Regions from separate parts of the Homo sapiens genome. Here regions 1, 2, 4, 5 and 6 are each linked to region 3. Evidence: promoter capture Hi-C in 16 types of primary human blood cells and fetal thymus (Javierre and others, 2016). All regions are on one chromosome and are shown on one strand. The core of a region is centred on a gene start or on the middle of the fragment in contact, and the rest is flanking DNA. Distances in the headings are between cores, read along the strand shown. Region 1 has its middle 9.8 kb from the start of CRNN. Region 2 has its middle 8.4 kb from the start of CRNN. Region 3 holds the start of HRNR (hornerin). Region 4 has its middle 42 kb from the start of CRNN. Region 5 holds the start of TCHHL1 (trichohyalin like 1). Region 6 has its middle 17 kb from the start of TCHHL1.

Region 1 (2,813 bases), core at 3-2,502, 200 kb before region 3:
AACCTCTGCCTCCCGGGTTCAGCTGATTCTCCTGCTTCAGCCTACCAAGTAGCTGAGATTACAGGCATCTGCCACCTCGCTCGGCTAATTTTTTTGTATTTTATAAGTAGAGATGGGGTTTTACCATGTTGGCCAGGCTGGTCTTGAACTCCTGACCTCAGGTGATCTGCCTGCCTCGGCCTCCCAAAGTGCTGGGATTACAGGTGTGAGCCACCATGCCCAGCCTGGCACATAATCTTTGCACCATCCACAGCTGCTGAGCCTCAAGCCAAGCCTCCATCTCTTCATCAGTAAATGAACTGACTGTGTAGGACTAACAGTCTCATCCAGACCTTGTTGGACTCCTCAGCACCTCCTCTGCAGTGTCCCCTAATGCTCCTTGTCAGGACATCCATTTCACCTGAATTTTGCTAAGCCTGGAGTGAAGCTTTAGCTGATGGATCTTGGCCTCTGTGAGCCAGGCACTGTCACCATCCAGACTTCCAGGCCTTGCTTGCAACCAGCTCCTTTTGGTAGTCAGTGTCTCAGACCTAGTTGTCAAGCCCACCCTGGAGAAAAGTGACTTGTGTCTTGGCCACTGCTGCCACTTCACAAGCCTATGTCTGAAAAGTAATAGTACACACATAGTGTCAGATATGTATTCCATATGCAGCAATGGTTGGCAGGCACATGGATTTGTGGAACCTGTACAATAAGGCTACCAAGCACCTGAAGACTTCAATTCAGGAAAGGGGATAGAAATCAGGTTCTTAGCACTCACATGGAAAGACTGGGCACCCAGAGAAGCCACTGTTGGGAATAGGCCCCCAAAATATGGCCATAAACTGGCCCCAAAACTGGCCATAAACAAAATCTCTGCAGCACTGTGACATGTTCATGATGTCCATGACACCCATGCTGGAAGGTTGTGGGTTTACTGGAATGAGGGCAAGGAATACCTGGCCCACCCAGGGTGGAAAACTGCTTAAAGGCATTCTTAAACCACAAACAATAGCATGAGCCATCCATGCCTTAAGGATATGCTCCTGCTGCAGATAACTAGCCAGACCCATCCCTTTATTTTGGCCCATCCCTTTATTTCCCATAAGGAATACCTTTAGTTAATCTATAATCTATAGAAACAATGCTTATCACTGGCCTGGCTTGCTGTTAATAAATACGTGGGTAAATCTCTGTTCAAGGCTCTCAGCTCTGAAGGCTGTGAGACCCCTGATTTCCCACTTCACAACTCTATATTTCTGTGTGTGTGTGTCTTTAATTCCTCTAGTGCCACTGGGTTAGGGTCTCCCTGACTGAGCTGGTCTCAGCAAGTGGAGCCCAACATGGGGCCTCAAACCCAGGTTGAAGGGTCGCCGGAGTGACAGTTGGAAAACGTGGAACTAAGCTGGAGGACACCCAAGTACTCTTAAAGCAATCCCCGTGGTGAGTAAGAAGGGGAGCTAGGAAGCATCAGGGTAACCATGGGATAAGTGTGGGCTCTGGGTTGTTCCACCTTGGAACCTTTTCACACTAAAGATGAGGAGGAAGGAGAGTATAACGAAGTAACAGAAGAGGTTACAGAGCAGGTTTGTTTGCCAGCTAAAGCTAAAGCAGCAAAGGAGAGAGAGGTTCAGCCCTACCCTTTTGCGCCCCCTCATTATTATTTTGAAGAAAAAGAGTGGCCTGACCCTCCAGATCTTTCTTTTCTGGAGGACACTAGGCAAAAAGTAGTTGCCCCAGTGACTGTTCGAGCAGCGCCTCGAGCAACCGTTCTCAGTTCTATTCAGGCAGGAATTCAGCAAGCTAGACGAGAAGGTGATTTAGAGGCTTGACAATTCCCTGTTAGAATACACCCCCCAGATCTGTACCTTAAGGACATGCTCCTGCTACATTTGAACCTTTTCCTTTTAAATTACTCAAAGAATTTAAACAAGTTATTATTCAATATGCACCAGGTTCTCCTTTTGTAATGGGACTTTTAAAGAATGTTGCTGTTTCTAGTCAGATGATTCCTACTGACTTGGACACTCTTACTCGAGCTTATCTAACTCCTGCTCAGTTCTTACAATTTAAAACTTGGTGGGCAGATGAAGCTTCCATTCAGGCTGCTCACAACACCCAGGCCCAACCTCAAATTAATATAACTGCAGACCAACTTTTGGGGGTTGGTGGCTGGGCTGGTTTAGATGCACAAGTGGTCATGCAGGATGATGCCATAGAACAGCTTAGAGGAGTGTGCATTAGAGCTTGGGAAAAAATAACTTCTGGTGGAGAAAAATACCCTTCCTTTAGTGCTGTAAAACAGGGACCAAAATAACGCCATGTGTGGATTTTATAGCTCAGTTACAGGAGTCTCTTAAAAAGGTGATTGCAGATTCGGCTGCTCTGGATATAGTGTTATGGTTATTAGCGTTCAACAATGCTAATCCTGATTGCCAGGCTGCTCTGCAACTTATTAGAGGGAAAGCACATTTAGTTGATTATATCAAGGCCTGTGACGGTATTGTAGGTAATCTGCATAAAGCTACTTTGTTGGCACAGGTCTCCACTGGGGTTGGTCAGTTTTTACCTAGTTCTTTCTCCATTAATCAAAGCACCCATCCCTTCCAGGGAGTTTTGGTATCCAAGATTAAAAGGTGAATTATTTGAGGAAGATATTCTGGGAGGTTCCCGAGGAACACCTGGTTGCAGCCATGTCAAGACTGACTCTGAGGAGGACCCCAACTGTCACGAGCAACACCTGTTGAACACAGCCACCCACCTGGGGACAGATCAAGATGCTGTCATAGATGGTGGAAGAAAACCTGAGGAAAGTGGGACAACCAGTCACAATA
Region 2 (2,782 bases), core at 113-2,612, 180 kb before region 3:
AGGAAAAACTGGGAGTGAAAGGATATCACTTCACATTAGATACTGAGAAAGGAAGAAGGAGGGTAAGGTGAAAATTTCCAGAAAATTCCATCATTACTTAGAGTGGAGAGTGAATATGCCATTTATTAAAGGGAAGGGGGAATACAGAATACATATTACATAAAGATGTACTATAAGATAACAACACAAATACAAACCTTCCTCAACACCAAAAGACATTCTAGAAAAAAGCAAATAACACAGATAACAGAGTGGATGATGTTATTTATGTAAAAGATACATATTTTCATAAATAGGACATAAAAGAGCGTGATAGACTGAGGTCAAACATATTTATAACAATAATGTCAAGAGCTTAACTCACTACTAGATGAACAAGTTGCATATTAGCTCTATACAAGTCTATGCTCCTTACAAGAGGTGTGCAAATCAAAGAGAGTCAGAAAACAATTTGTAAACAGGGTGGTTGAGTTAATATATATCAGGAAAATGCAGGTTAAAACAAAATTTAGAAATCAGGAGTCATGATCTTGATCCCAGATTAGATCAAAAGGCATTAAATAAGACTAAGAAGGAAGCTTTAAAATGCCAAATGCTATAATTTCACAATGAAGATATAATGGTTTTTAATATCTATGCATTCAATAATGTAGCACAACTCTGATGACACAGAAACTATAAGAGATACAAGGAAAAACTTAAAGAAAATAACATAGTAATAATAGGGCACTTTAATCATCTCTCTCAGCTCAAGACAGTAAGTGTAGAGAAGAAACAGTACATTCAATAAGATATAAAGAACTCTACAGACATATAGTCCAGCAATGTATTAACCTAACAAGAAAAAACTATACCGTCTACACATGAAATATTCAATATCAGGTCACAAAGAAAACTTCAATGCATTATTCAAAAATAGAAATAGGCCCAGGTGTGGTGGCTCATGCCTGTAATCCCAGCACTTTGGGAGGCTGAGGCGGGCAGATTGCTTGAGCTCAGGAGTTCAAGACCAGCCTGGGCAACATAATGAGATACCATTTCAACAAAAAGAAAAATACAAAAATTAGTTGGGCATGATGGCACATGCCTATAGTCCCAGATACTCAGGAGGCTAAGGAAAGAGAATCGCTTGAGCCCAGGAGGCAGAGGTTGCAGTGAGCTGAGATTGTGCTACTGCATTCCAGCCTAGGTGACAGATGGAGACCCTGTCTCAATAATAATAATAATAATAATAGAATTATTTCTTTCTTTCTTTTTCTTTTCCTTCTTTTCTTCCTTTCTTTCTTTCTTTCTTTCTTGCTTGCTTGCTTGTGTCTCTCTCGCTCTCTCTCTCTTTCTCTCACTCTCTCTTTTTCTCTCTCTCTCTCTCTCTCTTTCTTTTCTTTTTGAGACAGGGTCTCACTCTGTCACCCAGGCTGGAGTGCAGTGGTATGATCTCAGCTCACTGCTGCCTCCAGCTCCCAGGTTCAAGCAATTCTCCTGCCTCAGCCTCCCGAGTAGCTGGGATTACAGGCCCTTGCCACCACACCTGGCTAATTTTTGTATTTTTTGTGGAGAGGGAGTTTTGCCATGTTTCCCAGGCTGGTCTCAAACTCCTGAGCTCAAGTGATCCGCCCTCCTGAGCCTCCCAAAGTGCTGAGACTAAAGGCATGAACCATTGCCCCTGGCCACAAATAGCATTCTTAAAAGAACATGTAATAGTGATGGATTTTACCAAATCTGTGTTGTTGTTGGAAATTAAAAACATATATATAAACACACACACACATATTATTTTAAAACTGTTGAATAAAAGGAACTGAAAATAAAATGAAATTGCAGAATTTTTAGAAAATGATAATTAAACTAGACATATAAGGATCTGTAGAACACAGCTACATGAATTCCCCATAAAAATTAATAAAAGTATAAGTTCACAAAACAGTCAACAACTAAATAAGTAAGTAAATGAATAGATAATCCTCTTTTTTTTTTTTTTTGGAATCAACAAGTAGAAAAACCAACCTAATTTTGAAAAGAGTGAAAAAGGTGGGGTAAGAAGGCACAAACACACAAAATAAGAAATAAGAATGGGCAAAAGATACAAACAGATAGCTCACAAAAAATACAAATGATGCTTAAATATATGAAAAGATGCTAAAGCTTGTTTGTAATACTAGAAGCATAAACCAAAACTATACTAGTTTGAGATACCATTCTCACTATCAGCTTGACAAAAATCTACAAGTTTGAGAATAGATGATGATGAGGTAAAGCAGGCATTTTCACACCTTCTGGTGGGAATGCAAAATGAGCCTCAGTGGAGAGGAATTTGGTACAGTTCAGCAATACTACATGTGCCTGTTTTGTTCCTGCTGTTGCTTTGGTGTCTGAAGTAGTGCCTAGCATTCAATAATTATTTGTTAAAGGAATTGAATATCCTAATCTTTCCTGTCACATACATAAATTAACATAATCCCTACACAGACATGTGACTGTGGAAACATAGACATAATCAAGCTCATAGCAAATAAGAAAATGGAGTTTCTTTAGTGTTGTCAAAAGTTATGCAGTTAGAAAGAAAGAGGCAGAAATAGGACTAAACCCAGGTCCTCGGACTCTCAACTCAGTGTCAGGTCAAACCTCACAGATAAGAAAGGGCACCAGAGTGTATGAAGATCCATCCAAAGGGGCTGGGGAGGAAGCCGTAGAAAGTGGTCCTTCCACTTCTCACCTCCAGCCTTAACAGGAAGTCTGGCCATGAAAATATGGAGAAGACACCATCTCAGCATCCATGTTCCTA
Region 3 (2,768 bases), core at 260-2,759:
AAGTCCATGTAACTTCACACACCTTCAGTGAAATTTGTGTTATATGTTCACAATGGAAGAAATGCAGAGCGAGGGCCTCAGAAAAAAGCAGAAAGCCACTCATTGATTCTCAATGCTAAGATTCCGTTTATATTCAGGTAAAATCATGTCCTCTGAGGCAAAGATGGCAAGAGAGAGGGCAGACCCTAGTCCTCCTGTGAAAAGATGGAAGTTGGCCAATGCAGAGGACTATAGTCTTGATCCTTGCTTCTCTTTCAAATGAATTCAAACTGACATTTATTGGAGACCGTTATGTGACAAGCAGTATACTAGGTCTCCAAATGACATAAGGATAAATAATGTCCATTCCTTATTCTCAAGGAGCTCATAGCCTAGAAATGAAATAAGCCCATAGACAAATGTGTGTGTCTGTGTGTGAATGTGTGTGTTTGTGAAAGGCAAGGATATACAACAAATAACTAACAGTAGTTATTTTTGGCTAGTGGCTTTAAAGGTATTTTGATTTTATCTTATTTGCTTATCAATATTTTCTAATTTTTATATTAAACAATAATTGTATAGTAAAACAATTTTTAAAGATTACAATATAGTATGATTGATACAACAATAAATATGAATAAGGTACACAATTACAACTCCCTCTTGAGTAATTCAGGAAAGATTTTCTATGGGAAGCCTAAATTGGATTTTGAAGAATAATTAGTTCACTAGGCAGACAATGAGGAAAGACATTCTAAGAAAAAATATGAAATAACATATCCCATGGTATATTGAGGAAGTTTGAAATATTACTAGTTAATTACTGTTGGAGTACAAAGAGAAATATGGAGGGGAGAAATGGAGCTGGAAAAAAGCCACAGCCCAGATCATGAGGAACCATGGATACCATGCTAACAAGCACGCATTTCTTCCTAAGGTTATATGGTGTTTGAAATGAAAGCTATGGTGATGAATGGCCAATAAGGGGTCTGGTAAATTGAGGTACTTAATGAGTTAAAGGATGGCCTGGAGCCATTATCCAATTCAAAAGGTAATAACAATACCAAAGATGACACTTTGGCTGGAATACCATTTAAGAACATTTAGCTTAGAATGGGAGAGTTTGACTAGATGATCTTTACAGTCCTTTTAATCATCAATTTCCATGATTTTTTGACATTTGGGCCATGATGTCCCTGCACACACTCCATTCAACTTCTATTAAAATCCACACAATTTGTTGTCAATATATTGTGCTAGATAGTTTGATGAATACAAAAACAGGCCTTTCTGCAGTGTCCTGACCCTTTGGCAGGTGGGGCTGAGAGTAGCCCAGATTTGGGAACTGCTAATGCAATCTTAGGTGAACCTGTAAGGAAGTCAGGAAGAAGGTAAACACCTGGGAGGTGGAGATAGAGGTGGAGATGGGCTTGTTTAGGAGTAAATTAGGACATCTCAAAATTAGCAACTCCTCCCTAAGAGGGACCATTATTCCCTCTATAAAAAGGCCACTCTGCCCAACTCGCAGCACCCTGAAAGCTGTTTCTGTCTCTACCCTACTTGTTCCTCTGGTGAGCTAGGTAAGTGAGCAGTTCAACTCCGCTCAAGGGTACTTAGGGCTATAAATTATGAAAGTCCAGGATGTGCTCTAAGGCAAAGAGGCACTAGATACAAGGCTTCTTTTTAGTATACTCTGGGGAACTTTGGTATAAGTTTAAATTTACTGAAAAGAAAAATGAAACAAAGACTAGGACTATGTATATTATCTCCTTTCTTTGAGGTCGCTTCCCTTATAACATGGATATCATGGGGTTCTAATTATCCACAGGCAGGTTGCCTTCTTTACAACTGAGCTTTTCCTCTCTATTGTGTAATAAGGTCTGAGGGTCACTTCCTGCTTGGAGAATGAGAACAGAAGCTGGATCTAATAGCAGTTACCCTTAGCTTCATATCACCTAGGCTTGTTGGCTTTGCTCACATTGTCTATTTTCTCTGACCTAGAAGTCTTGAGAGTTCAGTTCAGCCATTGATGCTCCTTAGGTTGAGTAAGGCATGTCATGTAGATGATGGACCTATGCCCACAGTATGCTTCGAACCTAGAAAGAGGAAGCAGATGAAGTGGAACACTCAGGACTTCTACAGCTCCAGAACAAAGCTAATATTATCCCTGGTAATGGCAGGAAGCCAAAAACAGAAAGTCATTTTTCCTACATTCATTCAGGAATGGAAATAAGACCTATGGATTATATTCCTAATTTCATCACTCTCTTGCTACATGGCTTGAACAAGTCATTCAACTCTGAATTGGTTCTTGATTACAACAGAATGAATTTAATCATGACTGACTAATTCTGAACAATTATTATAAATAATTAGAACTATTTATGTGTTTAAACAAGAAATAAGAATAGTAAGGGGTTGGTCTCTCTTTTTCCTCCCTTTAGGTTACTCAAACTTGCAAAAAAAAAAATGCCTAAACTCCTACAAGGCGTCATCACTGTCATCGATGTTTTCTACCAATATGCCACCCAGCATGGGGAGTATGATACGTTGAACAAGGCAGAGCTGAAAGAACTTCTGGAAAATGAGTTTCATCAAATTCTGAAGGTAAGAACTCCACGCCAGGATGGAGTTATGCAGGAATTTTCTTCTTTATCCCTTTCCACCTTCTTGTCACATATGTCAAACATCCTAGAGGATTGTCCTTACTTGGTGAGAGAGAACAGGGTTTGGTAAAAGTTTGAGATAAGGTCAAAAGCAGATCCGTGATGGTTTCCATAGCATAACTA
Region 4 (2,763 bases), core at 1-2,500, 230 kb before region 3:
TGCCTGGCAGATGGCAGTCATTCTGCAAGGTACAGTTGCCCTCTCAGAACCTAGGCATGGTGTACAAGACCAAAGCCCCCAAAGCAACTCATTGTCCTGTCCACCTCTTCCTAAAATGCCATGTTATTGTTGCACCCCCATAGGCACCATTTTGTCAAGTGTGGTCTGGTCCTATTCTCCAAGCACTCTGTATCACACACTCCTGTGATTGCCACAGCATGGGGCAGGGCTGGCCTGGTAACTCCCTAAGGGACTAAGTCCTGCCTCACCAACAGTCTTCTATTCTGTCCTGGGCCCCTGAGATTCTGCCCTTCCACACAACAAGAGTAGTGACTGTGATACCAGAACCACATGACATGTTAAATAAAGAGGCTCTGTAAAGAGGAGCAGAGAGATGTGTGCCCCGGAGGGGAGGGAGGTGGTCAGGCTGGGGGTGAAGAGTGGTGGGACTTGGCCCTAGGAACTCCTGCCCTTTTGTCCTCCTTCCTGCCATACCCTCTCCTGTGTGTTCTTAGCATCTCACCCCCACTCCTCATCTCTCCAGTTCTAAAACAGTCTGTCAAGGCTTCTGGAAGTGGAGAGAGACCCAGGCTGGTTATGGAGGGATTATAAGGAACTGCTAAACACAAAAGACAATGGTCAGCCTCACCCAGACAAAGGCAAATGCCTGTCTTAGTGGGGAGATTGCATGTTCATCCAATTTGAAATTTTAAACAGATGTATAACTCTAAATACTTTAGAATTACAATGTTAGGTTGTGATTTTGAAAAATACCAGAAAAAATGGTATTATGCTAGCAAAAATATAAAGTGGAAATTTCCTCTTCCAATGGGAATGGAGTTACAGGGATGGATTTATCCTGTAACCTGAAACAACTACATAATCTGACAAGCTATAGTTGGCCTTCCTTATACTTGACTTCTACATCCATGGATTCAACCAACCATGGATCAAAAACATTTGAAAAAATACAATAAAAATACAATTTAAAAATACAGTATAACAACCATTTACATAGCATTTACATTATATTAGGTATTATAAGTAATCTAGAGATGTTTTCATGTCTACAGGAGGATGTGCATAGGTTATATGCAAATATCTTGCCATTTTACGTGAGGGATTTGAGCATCTCCAGATTTTGGCATCTTCAAGGGTCTTGGAACAAATCCCTCGTGAATACCAAGGAATGGCTATATAAAAAGAACAATAGTTTTCAAGACCATGAACCTGAAGCAATGCAGGACCATGATGTTTGCAAGATGAAACAAAATGAGCTGAACCCTAGGACTGTCCTGGCCTCCTCCCGGCAAAGGGTTTCCAGGCTGTGACTCAGGGAGCGGAAACTGGCAGAGTCCAGTGGACTCTCAGGATTGAATAAATGGAACTGGATCCTAAAAGACCAAGGCAGCTAGAGTTTTCAAGACAGACTACTAGCCTAGCTGTGGGGAAAAGAAAGAGAGATCAGACTGTTACTGTGTCTATGTAGAAAGAAGTAGACATAAGAGACTCCATTTTGTTGTGTACTAAGAAAAATTCTTCTGCCTTGAGATGCTGTTAATCTGTAACCCTAGCCCCAACCCTGTGCTTGCAGAGACCTGTGATGTGTTAACTCAAGGTTTAATGGATTTAGGGCTATGCAGGATGTGCTTTGTTAAACAAGTGCTTGAAGGCAGTATGCTTGTTAAAAGTCATCACTACTCTCTAATCTCAAGTACCCAGGGACACAATACACTGCGGAAGGCCGCAGGGACCTCTGCCTAGGAAAGCCACATATTGTCCAAGGTTTCTCCCCAAGTGATAGCCTGGGATATGGCCTCATGGGAGGGGAAAGACCTAACCATCCCCCAGCCCAACACCCGTAAAGGGTCTGTGCTGAGGAGGATTAGTAAAAGAGGAAGGCCTCTTTGCAGTTGAGATAACTCTGAGGAAGGCATCTGTCTCCTGCTCATCCCTGGGCAATGGAATGTCTCGGTGTAAAACCCAATTGTATGTTCCATCTACTGAGACAGGAGAAAACCACCTTATGGCTGGAGGTGAGACATGCTGGTGGCAATACTGCTCTTTAATGCACCAAGATGTTTATGTATTGGCACATCAAAGCACAGCACCTTTTTCTTAACCTTGTTTATGACACAGAGACATTTGTCACATGTTTTCCTGCTGACCTTCTCCCCACTATTACCCTATTGTCCTGCCACATCCCCCTCTCTGAGATGGTAGAGATAATGATCAATAAATACTGAGGGAACTCAGAGACCAGTGCCGGCGCGGGTCCTCCGTATACTGAGCGCCCGGTCCCCTGGGCCCACTTTTCTTTCTCTATGCTTTGTCTCTGTGTCTCTTTCTTTTCTCAGTCTCTCGTCCCACCAGACGAGAAACACCCACAGGTGTGGAGGGGCAGGCCACCCCTTCACCTAGCAAGGCAAGAGCTAGAGAGAGAAGGGGGCAGGGGAGCCCTGACAATCAGGAACAGCCTCCCCTCAGATCCTTAGCTGAGTTATGATCAGCACCTGTATGTGAGGAAACTACCTGAGGCAGAGGATGGACCTCCCTGCAGGAATGAAAGCGAATAATCCCAGGATCACCCCGAGTTAGGAAGAACCCCTGTTCCTAACAGCTAGAGTAGAAAACATCATAATTTATTGGATACTGGGTAGAGTACTCAGAAAGGTTTTGCCTCAGTGGTGTAGTAAAATTGGTCCTAAACTAAACACTGCTCTGGTGCCACCCATCATATCTTAAAAAGCAAAATTTGAAGGA
Region 5 (2,879 bases), core at 95-2,594, 140 kb after region 3:
TTAAATATTCTCTACTAAGAAGGACCCAGATCTAGGAGACAATTAAAATGTTTGCCAGTTCAGCATCTCAGACTCACTTCTGTTCTCAGCTTGATGATTTCAACATCTCCCTTTCCCCTTTACAGGGAGAACACAGTAATATAGATTATTGGTTTCAAGCTCCTTGTATAGTAAAAATGTCTTTAGAAAGCAAATATCAATCACGTTTTTAAAATAGCACAACATAGGTAAGCAAGGCTTTGCACACCAAGCAAGAATTTTTTTTTTTTTCTAACTCTGCCTCTGGGCAAGGAGAGCAAAGCATTGAAACATCTGAATCAACTGGTATCTCCACTTTTGTCACATGGCTAAATGGGGGCCTTTATTTTTAAACACATGATTGACACCCATCTCTCAGGTTTGGGTCAAATACGGGCCATCTTGTGGGCAGACAGAGGAATCAGATGACTTATGAGGTCCCTGCCAGCACTATGATTTGTCAGACAGAAATGTAATTATGTCCTTAGGTTAAAAAATGGGGGAGGGAAGCCAACACTACCTTGAAGAGCCTTCAAAACTATAATCTGCAAAAGTCAGTAAATGAATCAAGAAACCCCCTCCCCTTTCTTTTGATGCATCTGAAGCTAAGATTTAATTGAAACTGCCTAAAGAAGGAAATAAAATTAAGACAACTGACAACAGAGCAGGGGAGACTGGATTTGGTGGTGATGTCAGGTCATTAGACCCAGAGGGTGTCTCCTTCTTAACTGTGCAATTAGGACCTCAATAAAAGGTTCCAGCTCCTGCTGTCAGCTCACAGCCCGCTGCCCCACGTTCTACCTGCTCTCGCTTGTGAACTAGGTAAGTCCATCTGCTTGAGCATACTTGGGATTTCAGTTGCTGTTTTGCTTATATGTGAGATTGCAAGAGGATTTCAAAGGAAACACACTTTAAGTCTATGTCAACCCCTATTAATAATAATAAACTGGGAGCGCCAACCACCCAAATGCATTCCTTGATTATGGAACTTCTTTGATCATTTTCTTTTTAAAAAAAACATAAATTGTTTAGAAGTCATAGGCATGAATATTATTCAACAAGGCACAGGATCAGATCTCTATTGCAATGAAAATGTAGAAGCATTTAAAGGATGGGAAATGAATGAATAAGGGGTCGGGACATGGAATCATGTCTTCTTGGTTAAAGCATGTTGTTACCACCTGCAAACATAGGGGTTAATTTTCTTGGTGTGACTTATCTTTCCACTAGAAGCTTTGCTAACTTTAAAGGTTATACCCTCCTAACCGCAGGAGGCTAGACTGAGCCAAAGGGAGAGGAGAGCAGATAGACACTCTTGGATGAGGCTGGAAGAATGGGTCCAACTCTATTGGCTTCATTTATGCATTTCAATCCTTATGCTTGAGTTCTCTTATCACCTTCCTTTTGCAATGAAGCTTTCTCTGAGCACATGAATGTTGCTGTTTACTGAAGAGTGGGGTGAATTGTCTCTTCTAATACTTACCTATGCTGGGTCTGATTTCACCACAATGTCTGGTACAATACTAAATCACCCCTGGAGTTCAGATATAATATTTTAAGATACAGAATAGAGCAGGGGTTGCAGTGGAGATGGGGGAGGAACAAAAAGGATAATCTTGGTATCTCCTCCCTGAAGGACCCATCCTGGAAAATGAGCTTTGTTTATTCTTTCTCACAGCCTCTCCTGAGTTTGTAAAGATGCCTCAGCTCCTGAGAAATGTCCTCTGTGTAATTGAGACATTCCACAAATATGCCAGTGAGGACAGTAACGGGGCAACACTGACTGGCAGAGAGCTGAAACAACTCATCCAGGGCGAGTTTGGGGACTTTTTTCAGGTGAGCTTCTCACAGAGCTGTGTAAATTCTTTCCAACTCACCCTTTCTTTATAATCCAAGCAAGATGAGCATATGTGATCCCCATCCATTTTACACCTAGCTAACAGTTCTCAGCACTCACTGTCTCTTGAACAACTATTTTCAGTCTCAGTTCCATACTCTGTGCAATTACTTAGAGAAAAAGAGGTTTTCGTCACTGGGATTATTGCTTCTGCAAAGCTGACTTCTGAAAGGAGTCATAAACCATTATGCATCAAAATGCAACTCACAAGTGTTGTAAATGCTCTTTCTCAGGCATAGCTCTCTGATGAAAAATGGCTTGCAGAACCAATAAGTTCTTGCTGTTCTGGGAAAGTTAACCAGTTACTGAGGAATGAGGTCAGAAAAATAGGATTCTTGGGAGACACTTAGGACACTGGACCACATATAAATAAGCTGATTTCTCACTGTGTTTTCATGCAGCCCTGTGTCCTTCATGCTGTGGAAAAAAATTCAAATCTTCTGAATATTGACAGTAATGGCATCATCAGTTTTGATGAATTTGTTCTTGCAATCTTCAACTTGTTGAACCTCTGTTATCTTGACATAAAATCATTACTAAGTTCTGAACTAAGACAGGTGACTAAACCAGAGAAGGAGAAGCTAGATGATGTGGATGTTCAGGCAACCACCGGAGATGGTCAGTGGACAGTGGGAACTTCACCAACTCAAGAAAAGAGGATGCTTCCTTCAGGAATGGCATCATCATCTCAGCTCATCCCTGAAGAAAGTGGAGCAGTTGGAAATAACAGAGTGGACCCATGGAGAGAAGCCAAGACTCACAACTTTCCAGGAGAAGCATCTGAACACAATGATCCTAAGAACAAACACCTGGAAGGAGATGAACAAAGTCAGGAAGTGGCTCAAGATATACAAACAACAGAAGACAATGAAGGCCAACTTAAGACAAATAAGCCAATGGCAGGATCAAAAAAGACCAGCAGTCCCACAGAGAGGAAGGGACAAGATAAGGAGATCTCCCAGGA
Region 6 (2,829 bases), core at 205-2,704, 150 kb after region 3:
ACCCCAGCACTGTCCTTTCCACAAGGACCCATCCTAGGCACCATTTTAAGGAAAGAAAGTAAAAATAGAGAAGAGAATTTGAAGAAAAGATGGAATTCTTCCATCACTATCGATATATGTCTGGGTGTGTATGTTGCCTAAAGGGGCCAGCAGGCTTCATGACAACATTAGGATTGTCCAGAACCTTCAGAAAATATCACATGCATTTCTTCCTGACCTCCACAAACCACTGAAGGAGAAACCGGGGAATGTTTCAGAGCCAACTCTGAGGGTGGCTGATGACACACAACTACCCCTGAAGGGACCCCCAAGAAGGTGGACAGGAGTTTCTTTGAGGTCCATGTCTGGGCAAGTGGAGCATGAGGATGAGGCTACCTGGAGGCTGAGACAGGGAGCTTGAGGCAGACAGGAAGCCTCTCAGGAGCAATGCTTCTTTGCTGAGCCCTTTAGATCAAGCTTAAAGCTCAGGCGTTTTTGTAAAGCCATGAGAATATTCTGGTTTCCACTGGGTGGGTTGAGGTGGTTTTGAAACACAGAATCTGAAACTTGCCCAGCCGAGTTACTAGCTCTATTTGAGTAAACTGCAGGACAATAATTTTTCTCAAACAAGCGTTTAGTTAACTGTTCCTCACCATTCCCCTCACTTCTCCATGATTCTATTCCAGGCCTGGGAGTGGTGTGGAATCAGATCAAGGAGTTCATGTGGTTTCTGGTCTCAAGAAGCATATGATCTGGCCCAGGAGATGAGGCTAAACCACAGAAGAAAACCATGTGGAGACTTGCGTACCATGTCCACCTTGGTTTTCTCTACTTCTAAAGACGGAAAAGCTCAGAAAGAAAAACACCAAACTGATAATGGTCATTGCCTCTGAGAAAAGTAAAAGGGAATCAGGAGAGACAGTAGTAGTCAAAGAAGTCTTAGATGTCATCAAGTAATGTTTCAATTTTTTCAAGGATCAGGAACGTATGTATTATTTGTGTATAAATAAAAATTACTTTGAGATCTATAATTACTTCCATATGTTTTAATCACAAACAAGAAAATCATACCCCATACTGATTTGGGTCTTACTTAAAATCCTTAACAATCATAGTTTCAGAAAAAGGTCCTGATACATAAGGAAAATCAGTTAAATGTTAACATTCTTTGGCCACTGGGTTTATTATCTTCTTCTAAGAAAGACACAAGGGATGAGAATTTTCTGCTTTTTTCCATTTTCTGATCAAGAAAAGCTTGACTGAGCTGACCAAGAACATGTCAAGGATCTGAGAGTCCCCCGCCATGCCCCAGTTCATTCAGTTACATCCCTTCCTAATTGGGAACATGTTTAGGGGAGCCTACATTTCTGTAATTACTGGCCCCAGTGTATTTTTAAAAGCCTCATTCAGATGGAACAAATTCTTTGCATTTAATCATGCTGAACCTCATAATAAACATAATAACTGGGATTTGCACGGTGCTTTTCTTCAGAATGAGCTTAAAACACATTATAATCCAGTGCTTCCCTGAGCCACACCGTATCCTTATGACACATCCAAGAAATGGTGACCACTAGATCCCACTGCTGAGGCTCAGAGGGATTTGGTAAGATGCCTGAGGTCACAGAGCAGGCAAAGTCCAAATGTGCACTCAGGATAGCCACCCCAGCAGCAACTCCTCCAATCACCAAGCTTCTCCTACAGACAACTTGATGCCTTCAAATGACTCTGGCAGTCTCCTCTTATCTGTAATCATGGCTGTGGACACTTTCCAGGAAACTCCTCCCAGGCAGTGTCAAGACAAACCTTGACGCTGAGGGGCAAAGACCACGTCATCAGAAGAGTGTCACCACAGAAGTCATTCTGTCACCATTGCACATGGACTCTGGGTCAGAAAATGTCCTGTTTGTACAGGCAGTGTGGGTGGTAAGCATGGGCCCTGGCACCAAGCAGGCCTCCCCATTGTGTGACTATGGCAGGCTATCGCCTGGTGTGGACACACAGTAAGCGTCTCTTTCCCTTCTCATAGCAAGAACTGGATGCATTCATTTTCAATCTACTTGTCTTTTATTTTCCCTGATAGAAACTAATAAATTTTTAGGTAAAAGAACGAAAGGGAAGATCAAACTGAATGGAGACTTCAGGTCTGAAACAAATGGGGTGGGAATAGAGAGGTAGAAGAGACAGAGGTAAGAAAAGGCACACAAAGAAAGGGACAATGAGAAACAGAAAGAGATTGAAATGTTGAAAGGGGGGAAGACAAAAGGAAGACGGAAAAGAGAACAGAGAGAGACCATCAGAAAATGAGAAAGAGTGGAGAAAAGCAAGAAGGCCCAGGAATCAGATGAGCCAAACTCAGGAGAGACGGGCAGCAGACCAGGTGTGTCAGCAACAGCAGCCCGGAGACCACAGGCAAACCCAGAAGCTACAGGTCTGGCTGCCAAAGACGATTTACCAAGAGGGTGGGGAGACATTTGCACAAGGATAATTCCTCTCAAAAGCAAGGCTTTTCAAAGCAAGAATTATAATTATCTCTGTTACTCTTATTAATCACTCTAACGGCAACTAATGACCACACGGAGCCAGTTCATCAGGCTCCTGCCCTTTAGACACACAGGGAGAAAGACCTGCCTCCTCCTCCTTCAGTAGTCACCCATGCCTTGGGCTGTCTGAATACGGGCAAGAAAGAGTTTCCTACACAAATTCAAAAATAATGAAATATTATTGAGTCAAGTATCTAGAATATTTCCTCATAGAAACTATTTTGTTTTGTTTTGTTTTGTTTTGAATAAATAATACACTTTAGACATTCTAGAAAAATAAACTCCCCAGGGCCATGGGGATGTTCAG

What was found. Contacts are between HindIII fragments. The CHiCAGO score rates a contact against its expected background, and 5 or more counts as called.
Region 1: a fragment that was not itself captured here is called in contact with the fragment with the promoter of HRNR in region 3 in 4 of 17 cell types (naive CD8 T cells, total CD8 T cells, total CD4 T cells and 1 more); the score reaches 7.0 in naive CD8 T cells.
Region 2: a fragment that was not itself captured here is called in contact with the fragment with the promoter of HRNR in region 3 in 2 of 17 cell types (total CD8 T cells and total CD4 T cells); the score reaches 6.0 in total CD8 T cells.
Region 4: a fragment that was not itself captured here is called in contact with the fragment with the promoter of HRNR in region 3 in 15 of 17 cell types (total CD4 T cells, naive CD8 T cells, naive CD4 T cells and 12 more); the score reaches 12.1 in total CD4 T cells.
Region 5: a contact is called between a fragment that was not itself captured here and the fragment with the promoter of HRNR in region 3, in 6 of 17 cell types (total CD8 T cells, naive CD8 T cells, naive CD4 T cells and 3 more). The highest score is 7.0, in total CD8 T cells.
Region 6: a fragment that was not itself captured here is called in contact with the fragment with the promoter of HRNR in region 3 in 1 of 17 cell types (total CD8 T cells); the score reaches 5.0 in total CD8 T cells.

The regions. Positions count from the first base shown.
Region 1 is chr1:152,422,665-152,425,477 of GRCh38, reverse strand. No RefSeq gene overlaps it. Among named protein-coding and RNA genes, the nearest start is that of CRNN, 9.8 kb to the right of the region's middle. The HindIII fragment of the contact is 1,645 bases long and covers 430-2,074 here.
Region 2 is chr1:152,404,434-152,407,215 of GRCh38, reverse strand. No RefSeq gene overlaps it. Among named protein-coding and RNA genes, the nearest start is that of CRNN, 8.4 kb to the left of the region's middle. The HindIII fragment of the contact is 1,564 bases long and covers 581-2,144 here.
Region 3 is chr1:152,222,934-152,225,701 of GRCh38, reverse strand. It overlaps HRNR (hornerin), which reads left to right and starts at 1,509. Exons shown (of 3, transcript NM_001009931.3): 1 at 1,509-1,559; 2 at 2,424-2,586. The coding sequence starts at 2,449. All of the region lies in intron 1 of CCDST (cervical cancer associated DHX9 suppressive transcript), which reads right to left. The HindIII fragment of the contact is 14,241 bases long and covers 1-2,768 here.
Region 4 is chr1:152,454,762-152,457,524 of GRCh38, reverse strand. No RefSeq gene overlaps it. Among named protein-coding and RNA genes, the nearest start is that of CRNN, 42 kb to the right of the region's middle. The HindIII fragment of the contact is 3,652 bases long and covers 1-2,763 here.
Region 5 is chr1:152,086,981-152,089,859 of GRCh38, reverse strand. TCHHL1 (trichohyalin like 1) reads left to right here and starts at 796. Exons shown (of 3, transcript NM_001008536.2): 1 at 796-840; 2 at 1,697-1,854; 3 at 2,317-2,879. The coding sequence starts at 1,717. The HindIII fragment of the contact is 182 bases long and covers 1,254-1,435 here.
Region 6 is chr1:152,070,192-152,073,020 of GRCh38, reverse strand. No RefSeq gene overlaps it. Among named protein-coding and RNA genes, the nearest start is that of TCHHL1, 17 kb to the left of the region's middle. The HindIII fragment of the contact is 438 bases long and covers 1,236-1,673 here.